Regions from separate parts of the Homo sapiens genome. Here regions 2, 3 and 4 are each linked to region 1. Evidence: promoter capture Hi-C in 16 types of primary human blood cells and fetal thymus (Javierre and others, 2016). All regions are on one chromosome and are shown on one strand. The core of a region is centred on a gene start or on the middle of the fragment in contact, and the rest is flanking DNA. Distances in the headings are between cores, read along the strand shown.

What was found. Contacts are between HindIII fragments. The CHiCAGO score rates a contact against its expected background, and 5 or more counts as called.
Region 2: a fragment that was not itself captured here is called in contact with the fragment with the promoter of ASB6 in region 1 in 15 of 17 cell types (activated CD4 T cells, naive CD4 T cells, total CD8 T cells and 12 more); the score reaches 14.9 in activated CD4 T cells.
Region 3: a fragment that was not itself captured here is called in contact with the fragment with the promoter of ASB6 in region 1 in 7 of 17 cell types (neutrophils, total CD8 T cells, naive CD4 T cells and 4 more); the score reaches 9.9 in neutrophils.
Region 4: a fragment that was not itself captured here is called in contact with the fragment with the promoter of ASB6 in region 1 in 2 of 17 cell types (neutrophils and monocytes); the score reaches 8.0 in neutrophils.

The regions. Positions count from the first base shown.
Region 1 is chr9:129,639,449-129,644,130 of GRCh38, forward strand. It overlaps ASB6 (ankyrin repeat and SOCS box containing 6), which reads right to left and starts at 2,703. Exons shown (of 6, transcript NM_017873.4): 1 at 2,439-2,703; 2 at 1,093-1,274; 3 at 1-60. The coding sequence starts at 2,551. RefSeq lists enhancers at 649-1,206, 1,207-1,763 and a silencer at 2,470-3,069. The HindIII fragment of the contact is 16,646 bases long and covers 1-4,682 here.
Region 2 is chr9:129,130,423-129,135,104 of GRCh38, forward strand. It overlaps PTPA (protein phosphatase 2 phosphatase activator), which reads left to right. Exons shown (of 10, transcript NM_178000.3): 5 at 1,100-1,217; 6 at 4,373-4,472. Among named protein-coding and RNA genes, the nearest start is that of PTPA, 21 kb to the left of the region's middle. RefSeq lists enhancers at 1,108-1,662, 2,756-3,256 and a silencer at 1,354-1,555. The HindIII fragment of the contact is 1,465 bases long and covers 1,575-3,039 here.
Region 3 is chr9:129,155,118-129,159,799 of GRCh38, forward strand. No RefSeq gene overlaps it. Among named protein-coding and RNA genes, the nearest start is that of IER5L, 21 kb to the right of the region's middle. The HindIII fragment of the contact is 1,790 bases long and covers 1,424-3,213 here.
Region 4 is chr9:129,206,461-129,211,142 of GRCh38, forward strand. It overlaps LOC105376289 (a long non-coding RNA gene), which reads left to right. Exons shown (of 2, transcript XR_007061813.1): 2 at 2,409-3,247. Among named protein-coding and RNA genes, the nearest start is that of IER5L-AS1, 27 kb to the right of the region's middle. The HindIII fragment of the contact is 2,024 bases long and covers 912-2,935 here.

The DNA of each region.
Region 1 (4,682 bases), core at 1,453-3,952:
CCATGTCCGGCTGGTTCCGCAGGACGGCGATGTGCAAGGCCGTGTAGTAGGTGACTGGGTCTGAAGGTGCAGACACAGCTCATGTGGGTCCTATCTGTCCGCATTCTTATGGGGCCCCCGGACCCAGAGCCCAGCCCCAAACTCCCACCTAAAGTGTCCAGAAGCACAGGCCCAGCCTCCTGTCACCATCAAGGGTTAGGACAGAGCTGTCCTCACCAGATACTAGAGGGCCCTCGGGGTGTTCTAGTGGGCACGCTACTGAAGCTGTTGGGGGCTTTAGTTTCCTCTTCTGTAAGAAGGGACCATAAAACGGGGCGCACCCTCTCAGAATGGCTGGGAGGCCGCGCTACACAGCAGCTCTGGCGGCTCTGCTTTGTAGGCCTGGTGGTAACAGCCAGGTTCTCCAAGCTGGTCTCCAAGTCACTGGCTTCAGAACCGGCCCTCCCGTCTCAGCTCCTTGACCCTCCAGGAGCCCAGCAGACTCCAAGCCCGTCTTCGGATGGGGAAAGGAGACGTGCCTGGCTGTCTCAGGCCCCTATTAGGTCACAAGGCAGCCCTGCCTGTCTGCCGACTAACCCTGCCCTCCCTGGGCTGAAAAACACAGAGAAAGGAGCTCGGCTCCATCTCCATCCCTGGCACTCAGGAGCCAGGAGCCAGGGTGTCCTGTGGTGATTTATGCCTAATGCAGCCTGTTTTCCCCTCTCCCTACGGCATGAGAAAAAAAAAAACAAATTGGCTCAGAGTAAGTAGCAGAAAATTACCTTCCCTTAGCTCTGGGCACAGTGCCAGCAGCCGCATTTTTGCATTAATGGAAGTGGGGATTAATCTGGGAGCTGGGGAAAGTTTGCTAATCAATCACATGGTAGAAGCAGCAACACTCGCTCTTGGAACAGAGGTGGGAAGAGCCATGTGAAAACCCGCAGGGGGTGGGAGGCCACCCAATGGGAGTTTCCTTAGTTGCAGCCACCCAGGAAATAAAGGGGGGGAAGTCACTCCTCAGAGGATGGTAGAAGCCAAGGCTGGGGACATGGGCGCCCACCCAGCGTCGGGCCGCGTTTAAGCCACCTGCCCACCCCCGGGGCTCTCGCTGACCTTCAAAGTTGAGATTGGCCCCATGCCGCAAGAGAACGTCGGCCGCCCGCGTCAGCCCCAGCTCAGCCATCTTGAGCAGGGCGTTGCTCACGCCTTCCTGGTAAAAGGGAGAGTGGGCTTTCCTCTCCAGCAGCTCAGTGAGAACAAGGATTCGGCTCTCCTCGCTGGCGACATAACTGGGCCTGGGACAGGAGAGAGGCTGAGGGTAGGCACAGCTGTGGGACCGGGTGACCGCGCAGCCTGTGGGTTGGTGGGCTTTAGTCCTGCTATCATCATCAGCAAGCAGGGCCCTGGCTCTGTGGGTCACAGGGGCTTGGGGGAAGCTCTGAAGTAGAGAGAGGGCCACGCTGCATCTCTTAATACGGGAGCAGACTGGGATTTGCGGAGAATGGGCTGGGTCTGTCTGCGCTCTCCTCCCGCGTTGCCCAGAGTCCGGTCGCAGACTTAGGTACAAAGCCTCACACACCTGGGCTGCTGGGACTGAAGGGACCACCAGCCTGGAGGCCAAGAGCCCAAGCCCGACTTTGATGCTTCTTCCTCAGAAAGCCCTTCCATCCTCAAACCCGCAGGACCCCAGCCCCGGCAACACCTGCAGCCAGGACAGCAACACAGCCTCCTCCCTCCCCTCACATTGAGACCTTCAGCTGATATTGATGAAGAAAGCCTACGTTTCCACCAGAGTCCCTGGATGGCGAGACTCATCATTACCACGTGTTGGAAATACCAACTGACAACCCCCTCAACACCTGAGCCGAGCCCCTTCCTTCTGCTCTCCCCTCCCTTCCACCTCGCGTGCCGCCGTACAATTACTTGTCAGTCTCTCCTCTGGAGCACATGCGCCAAGAAGGCGGGGGTTTTGCTGAGCCACTGATGGACCCCAGGTGCCTAGTACCATGGGCAGTGAATGCAGATTCGCTCCCGACCCCTTTCCTGCAGGTCCACGACAGACCAGCTCTTGTCTATAAAAACGCAAACTCTGCTACAAAAGCCCACCTTCACACTGCTCTGGGGTAACATCTGAGGCCTCACGGATTCCACCCTGCTCCTCTGCCACGCCGGGGGGTGGCACAGGACAGGCAGGCGACAGGGTGGGGCTGAGGCGCAGGCCCTGCGACAACCCGCGGGCCTCCGCCCTCGGGCCCTCCCCGCCCTTCGTCTCCGCCATGCAAGGGGCAGGAGTGGGATCCGCGCGGGGCAGCGCGCACTCCGAGCCACGCAACCCCGGCTTCCGCCCGTCCCTTCCTCTGTCAAGGGGGACGCATCCACCCCGCCCGGCTTGTGGTGATAAAGTGGGACGCTGCGGGGTCGGAGCGGCCTCGGCCAGCTCACGGGAGGGGGTGAGTTACCGGTCCAGAGACTCCTGCCGCTCGGGGTCCTGGATCCCCAGGGAGCCCAGAATCGCATCCACCAGCGGCTGGTACTCGAAGATGATCCTCCGGAAGCCGTGCAGGAACGGCATCGCCGCGGGCCCCGCGCAGCAGGGCCGTCGCGCTTTCTGCCGAGGCCGAGATGCCCAGACGCCGACCGGAACGCTCCGGCGGCCGCGGACCCCACCTGCTCCGCCAGTCCAGCCCCTGCGCCCGGCCGGGTCCGCTCCTCAGTCCAAGCCGCGCCCCCGCCGGAAGTGACCCTCGTACTTCCTGCCCGCGCCGACTCAGGGTGGGCCATATGGCGACAGCGCCCCCTGCGGGCTCGGAGGACCTCGGCGCGTCCTGGGGCACGACCGCCAGGCCGACTCGGGCGATGTCCAGTGGGCGGCCCCAGCGGAGTGGGAGAGTGGAGGATCGAGCCAAGCCAGATCCGAGACTCAGGCGGGTCCGCCCCTTCCTGCCAGGGCCCGGCCCGGCTCGGCTTCGCCCTGCGATCCCGCCCGCGACCGCTGGGCGCCGTCCGAGTTCCGCCGGTCGTGCTCTCGGCCCTGCCGCTGCCCCACTGGCCCTGGGCGCCCCTGAGAGCTGTGGTCATCAGACACTGCCCCTTCCGGTTCGGGCTGGCCCTCGCCTTCCCTGAAGAGGGGCTGGGCCACCTCTGTCACCACCCGGCCCGCTGACTGGAATGATGAGGACCAGGGTACTCGCACGTCCCCTCCTCAGTTTCTTATTCTCTGTCCCGGGGAGCACCTGGCCAGGACGGCTGCTAGCCCTCTCCACCTCTGCCTTGATGGACTCAGTGAATCTTGTTTTTTGTTGTTGTTGTTTTTGTTTTTTTGGGGGACGTAGTCTCGCTCTGTTGCCCAGGCTGGAGTGCAATGGCACGATCTCGGCTCACTGCAACCTCCGCCTCCCGGGTTCAAGCGATTCTCCTGCCTCAGCCTCCCGAGTAGCTGGGATTACAGGCGCTGGCCACCACGCCCAGCTTATTCTTGTATTTTTAGTAGAGACAGGGTTTCACCATATTGGCCAGGCTGGTCTCGAACTCCTGACCTCGTGATCCTCCCACCTCGGCCTCCCAAAGTGCTGGGATTACAGGCATGAGCCACGGTGCCCAGCCCGAATCTTGTGTATTTTTTAGAGACAGGGTCTCACTCTGTCTCCCAGGCTGGAGTGTAGTGTAGTGATCATGACTCACTGCAGCTTTGAACCCCTGGGCTCAGGTGATCCTCCCGCCTCAGCCTCCCGAGAAGCTGGGAACACAGGAGTGTGCTACCGCCTGTCTCTGAACTTGGATTTCCTCATCTGTAAAATGGGTAGAATCCCCAGCACTTTGAGAGGCCGAGGCAGGTGGATCACCTGAGGTCAGAAGTTCGAAGCTGCAGACCGGCCTGGCCAATATGATGAAACCCTGTCTCTACTAAAAATACAAAAATTACCCGGGCGTGGTGGCAGGCGCCTGTAATCCCAGCTACTTGGGAGGCTGAGGCAGGAGAATTGCTTGAACCCGGGAGGCGGAGGTTGCAGTGAGTGGAGATCGCACCATCACACTCCAGCCTGGGCAATAAGAACGAAACTCTGTCTCAAAAAGAAAAAAAAAAAGTATAATCACACTCACCTGAGATGCTGGAGCCAGCGCACTGTAATTGTTGGTGGAAGTGGAATTCAGTGGGAAGGAGCCAAAACCCTCTGGTTCAGGAAGAAGGGGCGGAGTGGGCAGCCGGGTTTAAGCCCCTTTAGGGCAACACCAGCTTGGGCTTCCTAGAAGCAGCTCCAGGCCGCAGAGTCCACAGCTGCCAGCACGTTTCTGCCTTGGTTCTCGCTGTAGGAAAGAAATTTCTCCCTGGGTGAAATCGGGAAATTCTGCTCACATGGAAATGGACATTTCCAGCTTGCCTTGGAAAAACCACTTTTCTGGAGTCGAGGCACCTCCCCTTGGGCCATGCATTTGAGCCTCCTCTCCCACCTGGAGTCTGCGTGGGGGGGCCTTGATGCCTTCTTGCTTCTGGGAAGCTGATGATGAAGAGGGGTTTCCCGCCCCAGCAGTCCACATCACAGCGTTGGCCTCCTGGGCCTTGCTCTGCCAAGTTGGGCCCCTCTCCCTGGAACCTGCCAGACAGCGAGAGTTGCCCAGCCCAGGAAAAAAACATTTAAAGGCGCATTTCAAGACAATCCGATGGGTCTTAGAGTAAACATTTTTATATTTATTTATTTATTATT
Region 2 (4,682 bases), core at 1,057-3,556, 510 kb before region 1:
TTTTCCTGTTGTTCAGGCTGGAGTGCAGTGGCATGATCTCAGCTCCCTGCAGCCTTGACCTCCTGGGCTCAAGCAATCGTCCTGCCTCAGCCTCCCAAGTTGCTGGGACTACAGCATGCGCCACCATGCTTGGCTAATTTTTGTGTTTTTAGTAGAGACGGGGTTTCATCATGTTGGCCAGGCTGATCTCGAAATCCTGGCCTCAGGTGATCCGCCCACCTTGGCCTCCTAAAGTGTTGGAATTACAGGTGTGAGCCACTGCTCCCAGCCTTAAGTTATATCTTAAAGCTGACAAATCATAGCTTTACAGCTTGATGGATTTTTACATGTTTTTACTCATGGACTCACCACTCATGCCAAGTTTTTTACCCATGGATTCACCACTCATGTCAAGCAATAGAACATTCTAGCTGGAGTGCTCCCCTTCCCAATTGATATCGCCCAGATTATTCTGATTTCTATTCCATAAATTGATTTTTTTCCATGTTTCTGAACTTCGTATAACTCTCTGGCTTCTTTTGCTCAATGTCATGTCTGAGATTCATCCATGTTTTCATGTCTAGCTATAGGTCTTTTTCTTTGCTGTGTAGTATTCTATTGTATGAATATACCACAATTTATTCATTTCACTGTTGATGGACATTTCCATTGCATTTCCACCTTTTGGCTACTCTAAACAGTGCTGTTGTGAACATTCTTCTGCACGTCTTTTGATGGCACATGACACCAGCTCTTGCTGACCTGAGAGTGTGAAGGAAGGTGGCCTGTGTGGGAATCATAGCACTGACCTTCCAGAGTCTCTGTGGGGCTCCAGTGAGTTACCACATGGGAGGGTTGAGGCTTTTTTCCAGATTCCTCCTGTTTTGCCCCTAGACTCCTGTGCCCTGGAAAAATCAGTTGATGATAAGTCGCCTGGGTAGTCTTCTGCTGTGGAAGAATAAATGCTGTCCCTCCCCTTCCTTCTGTGGCCTGTCAGAACAGGAACCAAGCTGGCCTGGCAAGGCAGTGTGGGCCCCCAGTCAGGTGCTGCCCCTGGGCACCTGCCCACTGGGATGCTGCTTAATATGCTGCCACCACTTTGTGTCTCTTGTGTTACCAGGAAGCAGAAAACTTGGTGGCCACAGTGGTCCCTACCCATCTGGCAGCTGCTGTGCCTGAGGTGGCTGTTTACCTAAAGGAGTCAGTGGGGAACTCCACGCGCATTGACTACGGCACAGGTATCTGCTGCTTGTGGGGCTCTGTACTTATCTAGCTTCACTGCTTTCTGTTTTGGGCTTCAGGTGGTCTCTGGGCCCTCTGAGCAAGTGAGAGCAATCAAGAATTCGCCAAGCACCTGCAACCTATTGGGGCCAGCTGGGGTTAGGGTGGCTTCACCGGCAGGGAGGGCGTAGGCATGCAGGGAGGCCCGGATGCTGCAGCTCTGCTGTGGTCCACCAGGGGGAGCTGATGCCCCGTGCATGGTGCTTGCGCAGCGCTGCTTTCTGTTCTTGTGAAAATGGTCTCTGAGCTCCTCATCATCACCAAAATAATTATTAATTGAGCACTTACTGTGTGTCAAGGCAGCAGCTTACTGAAGCTTTGAGAAATGGGAACGCTTCTTGGTGGCCTTTGCAGTGTCGTGGCACACCCTCTCCCTTGAACCCCTTGTCTCTTAGCCACATTCTCTGTGCTATTGGGCTGTTTGGATCTGTGGTCCATGTAAGCCAAGGGACCTGGACTTTGAGGAGAGGGAGTGTGTGGACACTTTAAAAGGGAAGTGTAGACAGGTGCAGTGGTGCGTGCCTGTAATCCTAGCACTTTTGGAGGCTGAGGGGGAGGATTGCCTGAGCTCAGGAGTTTAAGACCAGCCTAGGCAACGTAGCAAGACTCCATCTCTTTTTTAAAAATTTATTTTAAGTTATTTTTATTTATATATTTATTTTTTTGAGACAGGGTCTTGCTTTGTCACCCGGGCTGCAGTGCAGTGATGTGATCTTGGCCCACTGCAGCCTTGACCTCCCGGGCCCAAGTGATCCTCTCACCTCTGCATCTCCCCACTCCCCAGTACCTGGGACTACAGGTGTGCACCACCAGCCTGGCAATTTATTTATTTATTTGAGACAGAGTCTCACTCTGTTGCCCAGGCTGGAGTGCAGTGGCATGATCTTGGCTCACTGCAACCTCCACCTCCTGGGTTCAAGCGATTATTCTGCTGGGACTATAGGCACACACCACCATACCTGGCTAATTTTAGTGTTTTTGGTAGAGACAGGGTTTCACCATGTTGGCCAGGCTGGTCTCGAACTCCTGACCTCTGGTGAGGTCACTTCTCCACCCACCTTGGCCTCCCAAAGTGCTGGGACTGGGATTACAGGCGTGAGCCACTGCGCCCAGCTGATTGTTTTGTATTTTTTGTAGAGATGGGGTTTTGCCATGTTGCCTGGGCTGGTCTTGAACTCCTGAGCTCAAGCTGTTCTCCCACCTCAGCCTCCCAAAGTGCTCAGATTACAGGTGCAAGCCACCATGCTGAGACCCCATCTCTCAAAAATATAAAAGGGAGGTGTTCTCTAGGTCAGGGCATGGCCTGTGGAGCCACCATGCTGAGACCCCATCTCTCAAAAATATAGAAGGGAGGCATTCTCTGTGTCAGGGCACGGCCTGTCGAGCCACCATGCTGAGACCCCATCTCTCAAAAATAGAGAAGGGAGGCGTTCTCTAGGTCAGGGCCTGGCCTGTGCAGCTAAGGAGGACCTCTGCTTTGGTGAGGGCCCGCCTTCCTTCCCTGAGGCAGGCAGATGGGGCACCGCTCAGCCCTCCCCTTGTCTGGGGAATGTGATCCACAGGAGGGAGCCCCAGCCACAGAGGCAGGCCCTGGAGAAGGGCCCTCTTGGACCGGGTGGGGCTTTGACTAAGACCAGCAGGAAAAGATCAAAGAGGGAAGACTGGCCAGGTCAGCAGGGGTTGGTGCCCCAGCTGCATGTGAACCCCTGAACAATGGGAGCCTGGGCCCTGTCTGGTCATAATTGGAAACTGTGGCAGGGGAAGGAAACTGAGCTCACAAGCTTCCAGGCCCTGGAGGGGTCTTCGTCCTCCAGAGACAGGACAGAAGTATTCTCTGACACATTCTCTTCTCACCTCCCTCCAGATAGGTTTTGTGTGACATTGTGAACAATGGGATTCAATCACAGTCCAGTGAGTTGTTCCTACAGTGCAGACCATTCCTGTTTGATATGACTGGGAAAGGAAGGAGGATACTTTTTCACCCTGTAATCTGATCATGTGTTCCCTGCTTAGAAGCCTGCAGTGGCTCCCTATTGCTCTTAGGGTAAAGTCTGAGCTCTTTCCTATGGCCAAAAGGCCCATGTGACCTGTAGCCTCCTGTCATTACACGTTCTCCCTTGCTCTCACTGCCTTCGACATACTGGCCTCCTTAGTGTTCCTCAAACAGATCAAACTTTTTCTTGCCTCAAGGCCTGTGCACATGCTATTCCTTCTGGCTAGAATGCATTTCTTGCTTCCCTCACTCCCTTTGCCTTGCCAGCTCACATCTTTCAGATTTCAGATTAGATGTTACTTCCTTAGGGGAAACCTTGAACCCTTACGTCAGGGTCCTTCTGTGATATCCTCCAGTTAGTACCCTGTCTTTCTCCTTCAGAGCTGGAATCATAGTAGTGACTGTATATTTATAATGTCTGTTGTCCCTGATAGATCATAAACTTTCTGAGGGCAAGGACTTACTTGTCACTGTCTCCTAGTGCGTAACATGGACAGTGACTGCTTACATAGTAGGTGCTCAGTAAATATGGTGGAATTGCTGAGTGAGTTAAACCTACGTAATGAAATGTAAATGTCCAGCCCGGGTCTTTTACGAGTGGAATTATAGTACTGGTAGTTCTTTTTTTTTTTTTTTTTTTTTTTTTTTTGAGACAGTCTCACTTTGTCACCCAGGCTGGAGTGCAGTGGCCTTATCATGGCTCACTGCAGCCTCAACCTCCTGGGCTCAGGAGATCCTCCATCTCAGCCTCCTGAGTAGTTGGGACCACAGGCACATGCCACCATGTCTGGCTAATTTTTGTATTTTTTGTAGAGACAGGGTTTTGCCATGTTGGCCAGGCTGATCTCAAACTCCTGAGCTCAAGCAAGCTGCCTGCCTCAGCCTCCTGAAGTGCTGGGATTACAGGCATGAGCCACCATGCACGGCCAGTACTGGTATTATAGTTCTTGAAAGGAAAGGGCCTAGCAAGTCTTTCTGAATGGGGAAGAGGTCTCATTGTCTCCATGTTGACCACCCTCCTCAGAGGGGCACTTATCAATGATTCGGATTCTGGGAGACTAAAACAATCCCAGTCCTTTACCTGGACTACTGTCAACGCTGGTTGTTTTTCTCCTCCAGGGCATGAGGCAGCCTTCGCTGCTTTCCTCTGCTGTCTCTGCAAGATTGGGGTGCTCCGGGTGGATGACCAAATAGCTATTGTCTTCAAGGTGTTCAATCGGTGAGAGAAAGGACAGGAGGGTTGGAGGAGGGGGCGTGAGGGGCCATCTGTTTCCTCCTCAAACTGGGAAATGGGGTGCTCTAGGGTTCTCCTGAGTAGCTCATGGTTCTCTTGTCCTGTCCTAATCAAGCTCTGGCTGTGGATGGAGTGTCCAAGCCTTTTTTCCAACAGGTTCAAATTAACCTCCAAGTAAAAGCAAGTGAAAGAATT
Region 3 (4,682 bases), core at 1,069-3,568, 480 kb before region 1:
CCCAGTCTGAGCCTGGACAGATTTCTTGACCCTTGTTATTTACATGAGACAAAGTTGGGGCTTTTCAAAAGGGACACTGCAAAGGCAGGCCGAGTGCAGCACCTCATCTCCAGGTAACTGGACCCAGCCCCGGGCAGGACAGGCAGGTGGGCGGGCTGCGGACGGAACAGCCTGCTCCTGCTCCCCACCTCTGCTTGGTGAGATTGGGCCTGGCCCTTGCTGGGCTGACGGACTGCGCACACCCTCTAGAGCCAGCTCCTGCCCTCTGCAAGGGGTGGGGAGCGTGGTGGCCAAGGTGTGCGTGGGCTCTGGAGTGGCTCTTGCATTTCCCTCTGTGTGACCTTGAGCCATGACTGAACCCCTCTGAGCCTCAGTTTCCTTACGTATAAACAAGGTAAGTAAACATGGCCTTACAGGGTGGATGTACCAGACACCGAACGGACACAGCCCAGGGCTTTGCTGGCACCGTCTCATTGAATCTCCGCAGGCCACCCTGCGAGGTGGGCATGTGGCAACCGAGCCATGGGGGAATTCCTTGGTGGTAAGTGGGTTTCAAACCTGGGCCATCAGGCTCCAGCGTGGACATTTCTTTCTTTCTTTCTTTCTTTTTTTTTTCTTTGAGACAAGAGTCTTGCTGTGTCATCCAGGCTGGAGTGCAGTGGTGCCATCTCTGCTCACTGCAACCCCCAACTCCTGGATTCAAGCGATTCTCCTGCTTTAGCCTCCCAAGTAGCCAAGATTACTGGTGTGCACCACCACACCCGGCTAATTTTGTATTTTTAGTAGAGACGGGGTTTCACCATGTTGGCCAGGCTGGTCTCGAACTCCTAACCTCAGGTGATCCACCCACCTTGGCCTCCCAAAGTGCTGGGATTACAGGCATGAGCCACTGTGCCCAGCTCAGTGTGGACATTTCTACCCACTGAGCCCAATAATGGCTGTGAATCTGTCCCACGAACGTTTACTGAGCACTTGCTCTGCCAGGCTCCAAGGAGACCCCAAGGACCATGGAGGAGGCAGATGCGGTTCCGTCCCTCATGGAGGTTTAAGGAGGACACGGGGCATGTGGGGAGCTGTGGGAATGTCGTGGACAGGGTGGAGAGCCTTCCTTGAAGGCAGGATGAGGGCTCCGGCAGCAAGGCTGGGAGGTGTGCTGGGTGTCTGGAGCTGGGGCGGTCGTTCCCTTGCTGGCTACTGGCCCCAGGCCTGGCTTCTGCCCGGACTGTGGTGGCCTGGCCATTCCTTCAGGAGTGGCTCCTGCCCTACTCCATGCAAATTCCTGGTCCCCATGTCTCAGTTGCCACTGCTGCTCCAGGCCCCAGCAGCTGTCTGCCCCCTGATGTCTGGGGGTTCCCGCAGCGAGCCTGGAGCTTGTGGCTCCTGCATGCGGCCTATGTGTCTGGCCCTGAGCTAAGTGCTTCGAAGCTTCTCTTGCCTCATCCTCACAATGGGCGCTGATGTCCTCATTTCACAGAAGGGTCTGGGGTCTCTTTCCCGCCAAAGCTCGTGCTCCTGCAGCCTCTCCACGGGGCCTGACCTGAGGGCTCGGGTGGCATGGGCTGCCGTGTGCTGCCTGTCCCCACTGTGGTGGCCTGAGAGCCCTCCTCCACTCCACTTCACTCTACCCCCTCCCCCTCCTCCTCCTCTTCCTCCTGCTCCTGCACCCATCTCTCCAGGACTGGCCCCAGACCCTGGGCTTCTCTGAGAGGCACCTCTTCCAAGGGCCCAGTTTCTTTTTGGAGGCAGGGCCGATTTGCACAAAGATGACGAAGACGCATGACAGCAATGACTCTCTGGCTGGTAGCGTGCCTCTTGGTGTGTGCAGATTGTGCTTTATGTGTCACCTCGTGGAGTCCCCACAGTGAGCCGAGAAGGTGGCATCACATTCCCAGTCAAGGGCTTTTGGTGGTGGGGCTCAGATCTTAGTGGCGTCCCAGGGCCTCCAGCTTGTCCAAGTGGGTTCAGGGTGGTGCCCAGGTTTGTCTGACACCAGGTCCTACAAAGGCCAGCATGGTGGGGTACCCGGAGCTGGGCAAGGGAAAGATTGGCTATGGCCACGTGGCTCCTTGTTCTCCCCAAGGCAGTCTGTCTCTGCGGACAGCCATCAGGCCCCAAATCCAGGCGTCATCCTTTTTATTTTTTGAGACAGGATCTTGCTCTGTCACCCAGGCTGGAGTGCAGTGGCTCGATTTCAGCTCACTGCAAACTTTGCCTCCCAGGTTCAAGTGATTCTCCTGGCTCAGCCTCCCTAGTAGCTAGGATTATAGGCCTGCACCACCACGCCTGGCTAATTTTGTATTTTTAGTAGAGACCGGGTTTCACCATGTTGGCCAGGCTGGTCTCCAACTCCTGGCCTCAAGTGATCCACCTGCCTCAGCATCCCAAAGTCCTGAGATTATAGGAGTGAGTCACCGTGCCTGGCCCAGGTGTTATCTTTTTTATTTTTATTTTTTGAGACAGAGTCTTGCTCTGTCGTCCAGGCTGGTGCAGTGGCACAATCATAGCTCACTGCAGCCTTGGCCTCGTTTACCCTCTATTGCTTGAGAGTTTACTCTCCTGGGTCCACACCTGGGACTACAGGTGTGCACCATTATGCCCAGCTAAATTTAAGAAACTTTTTTTCTGTAGAGACAGGGTTTCCCTATGTTGCCCAGGCTGGTCTCAAACTCCTGAGCACAAGTGATCCTCGTGCCTCGGCCTCTCAAAGTGCTGGGATTATTACAGGTATGAGCTACCATACCTGGTGCAGGTGTTATCCTGAATTCCTTTCTTTTCCTCTACCTCTCAAATCCAACCCATGAGCAGGTCCTATTGGGTCTCCCTCCAAATTGTAACCCAAATCTGCCCGCAGCCAGGGAGCACGGTCAGCTCTCCCAGGAGCGCTGGCCAGCAGCATCTCCTCTCTGCTCTCCTGACTCCACTCTGCCACTGTCCCTGGGCTCTACCCTGAGGTGCTTAAAGGTGATTCTACCCTGAGGTGCTTGAAGGTCACTCCCATCAGATCCCTACTTGAAGGGTGGCTCCTGACTGTGCACAGAAGGCCCCACGAGGTGATGAGCCACTGTGCCCCCGCCCCACTCGCCCACTCCCGTACTTCAGTCATGTTGCCCTCTCTCTGGTCCTCCAGAATGTCTTTTTTTTGTTTGTTTTTGAGACAGAGTCTCGCTCTGTCACCCAGGCTGGAGTGCAGTGGCGCGATCTCGGCTCACTGCAAGCTTCGCCTCCCGGGTTCACACCATTCTCCTGCCTCAGCCTCCCGAGTAGCTGGGACTACAGGCGTCCGCCACCACACCCGGCTAATTTTTTTGTATTTTTAGTAGAGACGGGGTTTCACCGTGTTAGCCAGGATGGTCTCGATCTCCTGACCTTGTGATCTGCCCGCCTTGGCCTCTCAAAGTGCTGGGATTACAGGTGTGAGCCACCATGCCCTGCCTGGTCCTCCAAAATGTCAAACTTGTTGCTGCCCCAGGGCCTTGGCACTTGCTGTTTCCTTGGCTTGCACTGCTTGAGCCCAGGCTGAGCAGAGGCACCCTCTGGTTGTTCAGGGCCCAGTTCAGATGCCACCTCCCGAGAGAGGCGTCCCAGCTTTCTTTTTTTTCTTTTTTTTTTTTGAGATGGAGTCTCGCTCTGTCCCCCAGGCTGGAGTGCAGTGGCGCGATCTCGGCTCACTACAAGCTCCGCCTTCCAGGTTCACACCATTCTCCTGCCTCAGCCTCCCGAGTAGCAGGGACTACAGGCACCCACCACCACGCCCGGTTAATTTTTTGTATTTTTAGTAGAAACGAGGTTTCACTGTGTTAGCCAGGATGGTCTTGATCTCCTGACCTCGTGATCCACCTGCCTCGGCCTCCCAAAGTGCTGGGATTACAGGCATGAGCCATTGTGCCCGGCCACACTCCAGCTTTCTCTGAGTTGCTCCTAACTTGAGCCTCCATCCGCCCTCTGTTCCAGTTGCCTTCATGAGCCCAGTTTCATCTCAAGTTTTATTATCTATGAACTTGTTCACTTGGTGATCATCTCCCTCTCAGTGGATGGTAAGCCCAGTGAGGGAGGGCACAGGCTTACTGTGGCCAACACTGGGCCCCCAGCACCAGGAGTAGGGGCTGGCCCAGACTACGTGGATGCCCAGTTACTACCTGCTGAACCATGAATGAATGAATGAATGAATGAATAAAAAAGTAAGTCCTCTGTCCCTGGTGTTATCCTAGAAGAAGCTGAACAACAGGTGCTGACCAGGGCCTTGGCTGCAAAGTTGCTCTCCCCTTACTCCAATGCAGGAGCTCTGGGGGTCCCGTGGAGGGCCCTGCGGGCAGGACAGCTTCCCAGTGTCCCAAACTCTGAGGGTTTGTGCTTCTGCAGCTCACTCCCAAGTTTGGGCAGCACCCTTGATGGAAACGGGCAGACTGCATGGACTTGGCCTCAGGCAGGTGAAGTCCGTGGGACATTCCCAAGGTTGGAGAGGCAGAGCAGCAAGGGAGAGGCTAAGTGGGAGTCACGCTGCTTTTGATAAACTAGTGATGCCAGCCGGGTGTGGTGGCTTACACCTGTAATGCCAGCACTTTGGAAGGACAAGGGGGTCCGATCACCTGAGGTCAATAGTTCGAGACCAGCCTGGCCAACATGGTGAAACCTTGTCTCTACTAAAAATACAAAAAATTAGCTGGGTGTGTTAGTGGGCACGT
Region 4 (4,682 bases), core at 674-3,173, 430 kb before region 1:
GCAGATCCGCCATGGGGGTGAAATTGGGACATGGGTGTGGCTGTGTTTACCTGCCCAGCACCCCACCCTCTCAGTCACCCTCAGGTCCCTTTTTGAAGTGGTCCCCTGTCCTTCAGGAGCACACCTGTCATCCCAGGCTGGCCAATCAGCACATGGTGAGCATGCAGTCATGTGACCCAAGGCAGGCCAGTGAGATGCAGGCCTGGGACCTGGGAGCAAAGAAAGGGGAAGGGAAGCTCTCTTTTTGCCAGGGAGCCTAGGCTGGTAGGATACAAGGTTGGAATTGCCAGGGTCAACTGTGTGGGCAGCCTGCGCAAGATGAAGCCAACACTAGACAGCAGAGCTGAGAAATTGACAGGGGATGGCGGGAGGGAGACATTGTTTGAACACCTGTGTATTAGTCCGTTCTCACATTGCTGTAAAGAAATACCTGAGACTGGGTAACTCATGAAGAAAAGAGGTTTAATTGGTGCACAGTTCTGTAGGCTGTACAGAAAGCATAGTGCTGGCATCTGCTTGGCTTCTGGAGAAACTTACAATCATGGCGGAAGGTGAAGGGGAAGCAGCCATGTCACATGGCCAGAAAAGGAGCAAGAGAGAGAGAGAGAGGGGAGGTGCCACACACTTCTAAACAACCACATCTCATGAGAACTCACTCAGTATCACAAGAACAGCACTAAGAGGACGGTGCTAAACCACTCATGAGAAACCCATCCCCACGATCCAGCCACCTCCCACCAGGCCCCACCGCCATCATTGGGGTTGACAATTCAACGGGAAATTTGGGTGGGGACACAGATCCACACTATATCAACCCGGATCCAGCCTTGCCTGACACGGTCTATCCCTTTTGGCTTAGGACAATTTGAGTTGGCTTTCTGTCCTTGCGACTAGTTCTGATGAATGCAGAAAGCTTATTTCACCCATATGTCTGTCCTTCTGTCTACCTATCCATCCCATATTTACTGAACACCTGCTCCGTACCAGCCCCTGTTCTGGGGCCTGGCCCCAGCCCTCCGTTTGAAGGGACAGGTGACAAAGTGACGAGCCTTTTAGAGCATGGGACACTAGGAGCTGCTGCAGAGGTGAGCCCTGGTGGCTGTGGCTGTGAGAGTCTTTGTGTTGTGGGGAAGGGGAATCCAGGCAGGCTTTGTGGAGGAGGTGATCTCTGGGGTGGCCTTGGAGGCATAGGCAGGATTTTACTAGTTTGGGAGTCTGGGAGGGGATCTTTCAGAGCAGAAGGCATCAAAAAGACAGGTAGAAAAGACCAGGAACACTGGAACCCGGCTGCCTGGGGTGGAGGGGTTGGGATTTTATAAACGGTTGGGTCTATATAATAGTCATACCTGCTCACTGCCACTACTGGTCATAAAGAACCAACATCTGTTGAGAAGCACCACGCTAGCACTTGATGTTTATTTTCTCATTAATTCTCTCCACCTCCCTTGAGGGGATTCATGGGTACTATCTTCATTTTGCAGGTGAGGAGGAGATGGAGACTCAGAGAGGTGGCGGCCTTCTCAAGGTTTTGCAAACACGCATGTGGCCCAGCAAGTCTCTCTGACTTTGACCCCAAGTTCTTTTTTGAAAAAAATTAAGTTAATTATTTTTTAGAGACAGGGTCTCTGTCACCCAGGCTGGAGGGGAGTGCAGTGGTGTGATCATAGCTCACTGCAGCCTTGACCTCTGAACTCAAGTGATCCTTCCACTTCAGCTTTCAGAACATCTGGGACTATGGGCATGCGGCTCCATGCCCGACTTTTTTTTTTTTTGTTAGCGATGAGGCCTCACTTTGTTGCCCAGGCTGATCTCGAACTCCTGGACTCAAACAATCCTCCCACCTCAGCCTCTCAAAGTGCTGGGATTATAGGCGTGAACCACCTTGCCGGGCTTGACTCCAAGTTCTTAACTGCTCAGGCCCACACAGGCCCTTTTGCAGCTCTGCATCTCTGGCCACGCCTTGGAGGAGGTTGAGGTGGAGGCCACAGAAGCAGCCCTGGAGAGTTCTGGAGTTTCCATTGCTGGGGGCCATAGAAAGAGGCTTGCCCTGTAGGCTCCCAGGATCAGCTTGGAGTCTGTCACGTTGATCGCTGTGGGACCCTCCCACCCCCTGCTCTCCTCCAGCCTGGCCCCTCCCACTTCCTGTCTTCCCCACAGCCGCCCCTGTGATGGAACATTTGAGGGTACATCTGCCCAGGCCTCTCTGTTGCTGAACGGCCTGGAATGGCTCCCTATTGCCCTTGGGTAAAGTTCAGACCCTTCCCCTTGGCCTGCAGGCTCTACCTTCTCCTGTCCGGCCTGCCTCTCAGCCTCTTCTCTGGAGCCCAGCCTCCTGCGGAACCATGGCCACCCTCCCCCTGAGTCCCTGGGAGCCACACCCCTTTCAGCATTTCTTTCTTACTCTCTAGGAGCCGGCTCAGGTGTCTCTCCCTCCAGGAAGTGGGGCTTGTGCCCTTTGGATACCTGCACTCCCCATCACCGCACTCCCCATCGTGGCACTTCCCTTGTTGCAGTTTTATGGAGTGTGCGTCTGGCTCTCCAACTAGACTTGAACCGCTTGAGTGCATAACTCGGGACTTGACCATTTGCGTCTCCCTACGGCCAGCTCAGCCTCCGCACACAGGGACCTGCAGAGAGTGGATGTAGCCACTGCCCCAGCGTCCCTGGGCTCTGAAGAGAAGCCATTGCCCTTCAAGAGCCACCCTCATTTCCTGGGCACTGGTTGGAAAAAACGAAGAAAAAGAGACACCCAGCTCACCTCCAAGTTTGCCTGCAGGTGAATATCTTGTTGAAAGAGAGGGGACTCCCTGAGTCTTGCTGGGTTGAGGAAGCTGATTGGATTTCCGGACTCAGAGGAGGGCTGCAGAGAGGGAGGAATGGGGGGGATGGGCAGCTGGCTTTCTGGATGGGTGCAGGACAATGACATTGATGGGGAAGCTTGGGGTGGCTCTGCCGTTGCCCACTGCTTGGCTGGTGAACTTGCTACATCTTGGCCAGCACTATCCTCTTCTGGCCTGCACCCTGCCAGACACAGGCAGTACCCCAAATACCCTGTCCCTGTGCCCCGAAGTCTCCATGACCTTCAGATCCCAAGGGACAAGTGGCTCCACGAGGCAGGGCCTGTCCCTCTGGCTCACACTATGGAGTCCACAGAACCTAGCCCGGAGCCTAGTGCACAGTAGGTGCTCAATGTATTCTATTTGAATGTTGCATGAGTGAATAAATGCAGGAATGTCAGGCTGGAAAACAGGTATTTGTACACCTGTTTTCATAGCAGTGTTATTCACAGTAGTCAAAGGGTGGAAGCATCCCACGTGTCTGCTGATGGGTGAACGAGTAAACAGAATGTGCCCCAGCCATACAATGGAATGCGATTCAGCCTTTTTTTTTTGAGACGGAGTCTGGCTCTGTCACCCAGGCTGGAGTGCAGTGGCACGACCTCAGCTTGCTGCAACCTCTGTCTCCCGGGTTCAAGTGATTCTCCTGCTTCAGCCTCCTGAGTAGCTGGGATTACAGGCATGTACCACCACACCTGGCTAATTTTTATATTTTTAGCAGAGACAGGGTTTCACCATGTTGGCCAGGGGCTGGTGTCGAACTCCTGACCTCAAGTGATCCTCCCTCTTCGGCCTCTCAAAGTGCTGGGATTACAGGCGTGAGCCACGGCGCCCGGCCACGATTCACCCTTAAAAAAGGAAGGACATTCTGACACATGCTACGACTTGGGTGAACCTTGAGTACCTGAGTGAAATAAGCCCATCAAAAAAGGACAAATATTAGCCAGGTGCTGTGGCTAATGCCTGTAATCTCAGCACTTTGGGAGGCCAAGGACGGAGGATTGCTTGAGGATTGCTCAATACCAGCCTGGGCCACAAAGCAAGACCACCCATGTGAGGTGTTTAGAGTAGTCAAATTCATAGAGACAGTAGGATGGGGAGTGCCAGGAGCTGGGGAGAAGGGGGAATGGGGAGTTAGAGTTTAATGGGGACAGATTTTCAGTTTTACAAGATGAAAAATGTTCTGGAGATGATGGTGGTGATAGAGGCACAATGTGGATATGCTTCATGCCACTGAACTGGACCTAACCATTTATGTTTTGTGTATTTTATCACAATAAAAAATGAAAAAAAAGCATCTTTTCCTAAACTTTTTATTATTTGAGCTATTTTTTTTTTTTTGAAACAGAGTCTGGCTCTGTTGCCCAGTCTGGAGTGCAATGGTGCGATATTGGCTCACTGTGACCTCCGCCTCCTGAGCTCAAGCAATTCTCCTGCCTCAGCCTGCCGAGTAGCTGGGATTACAGGCGTGCGCCACTATGCTTGGCTAATTTTTTTTTTTTTTTGAGACGGAGTTTCGCTCTTGTTGCCCAGGCTGGAGTGCAGTGGTACAACCTCCACCTCCTGGGTTCAAGTGATTCTCCTGCCTCAGCCTCCCGGGTAGCTGGGACTACAGGCACGTGCCACCATGCCTGGTTAATTTTTGTATTTTTTTTTTTTTTTTTAGTAGAGACAGGGTTTCACCACGTTGGCCAGGATGGTCTCGATCTCTTGACCTTGTGATCTGCCCGCCTCGGCCTCCCAAAGTGCTGGGATTACAGGCATGAGCCACCGCGCCTGGCCAATTTTTGTATTTTTAGTAGAGATGGGGTTTCACCATGTTGGCCAGGCTGGTCTTGAACTCCT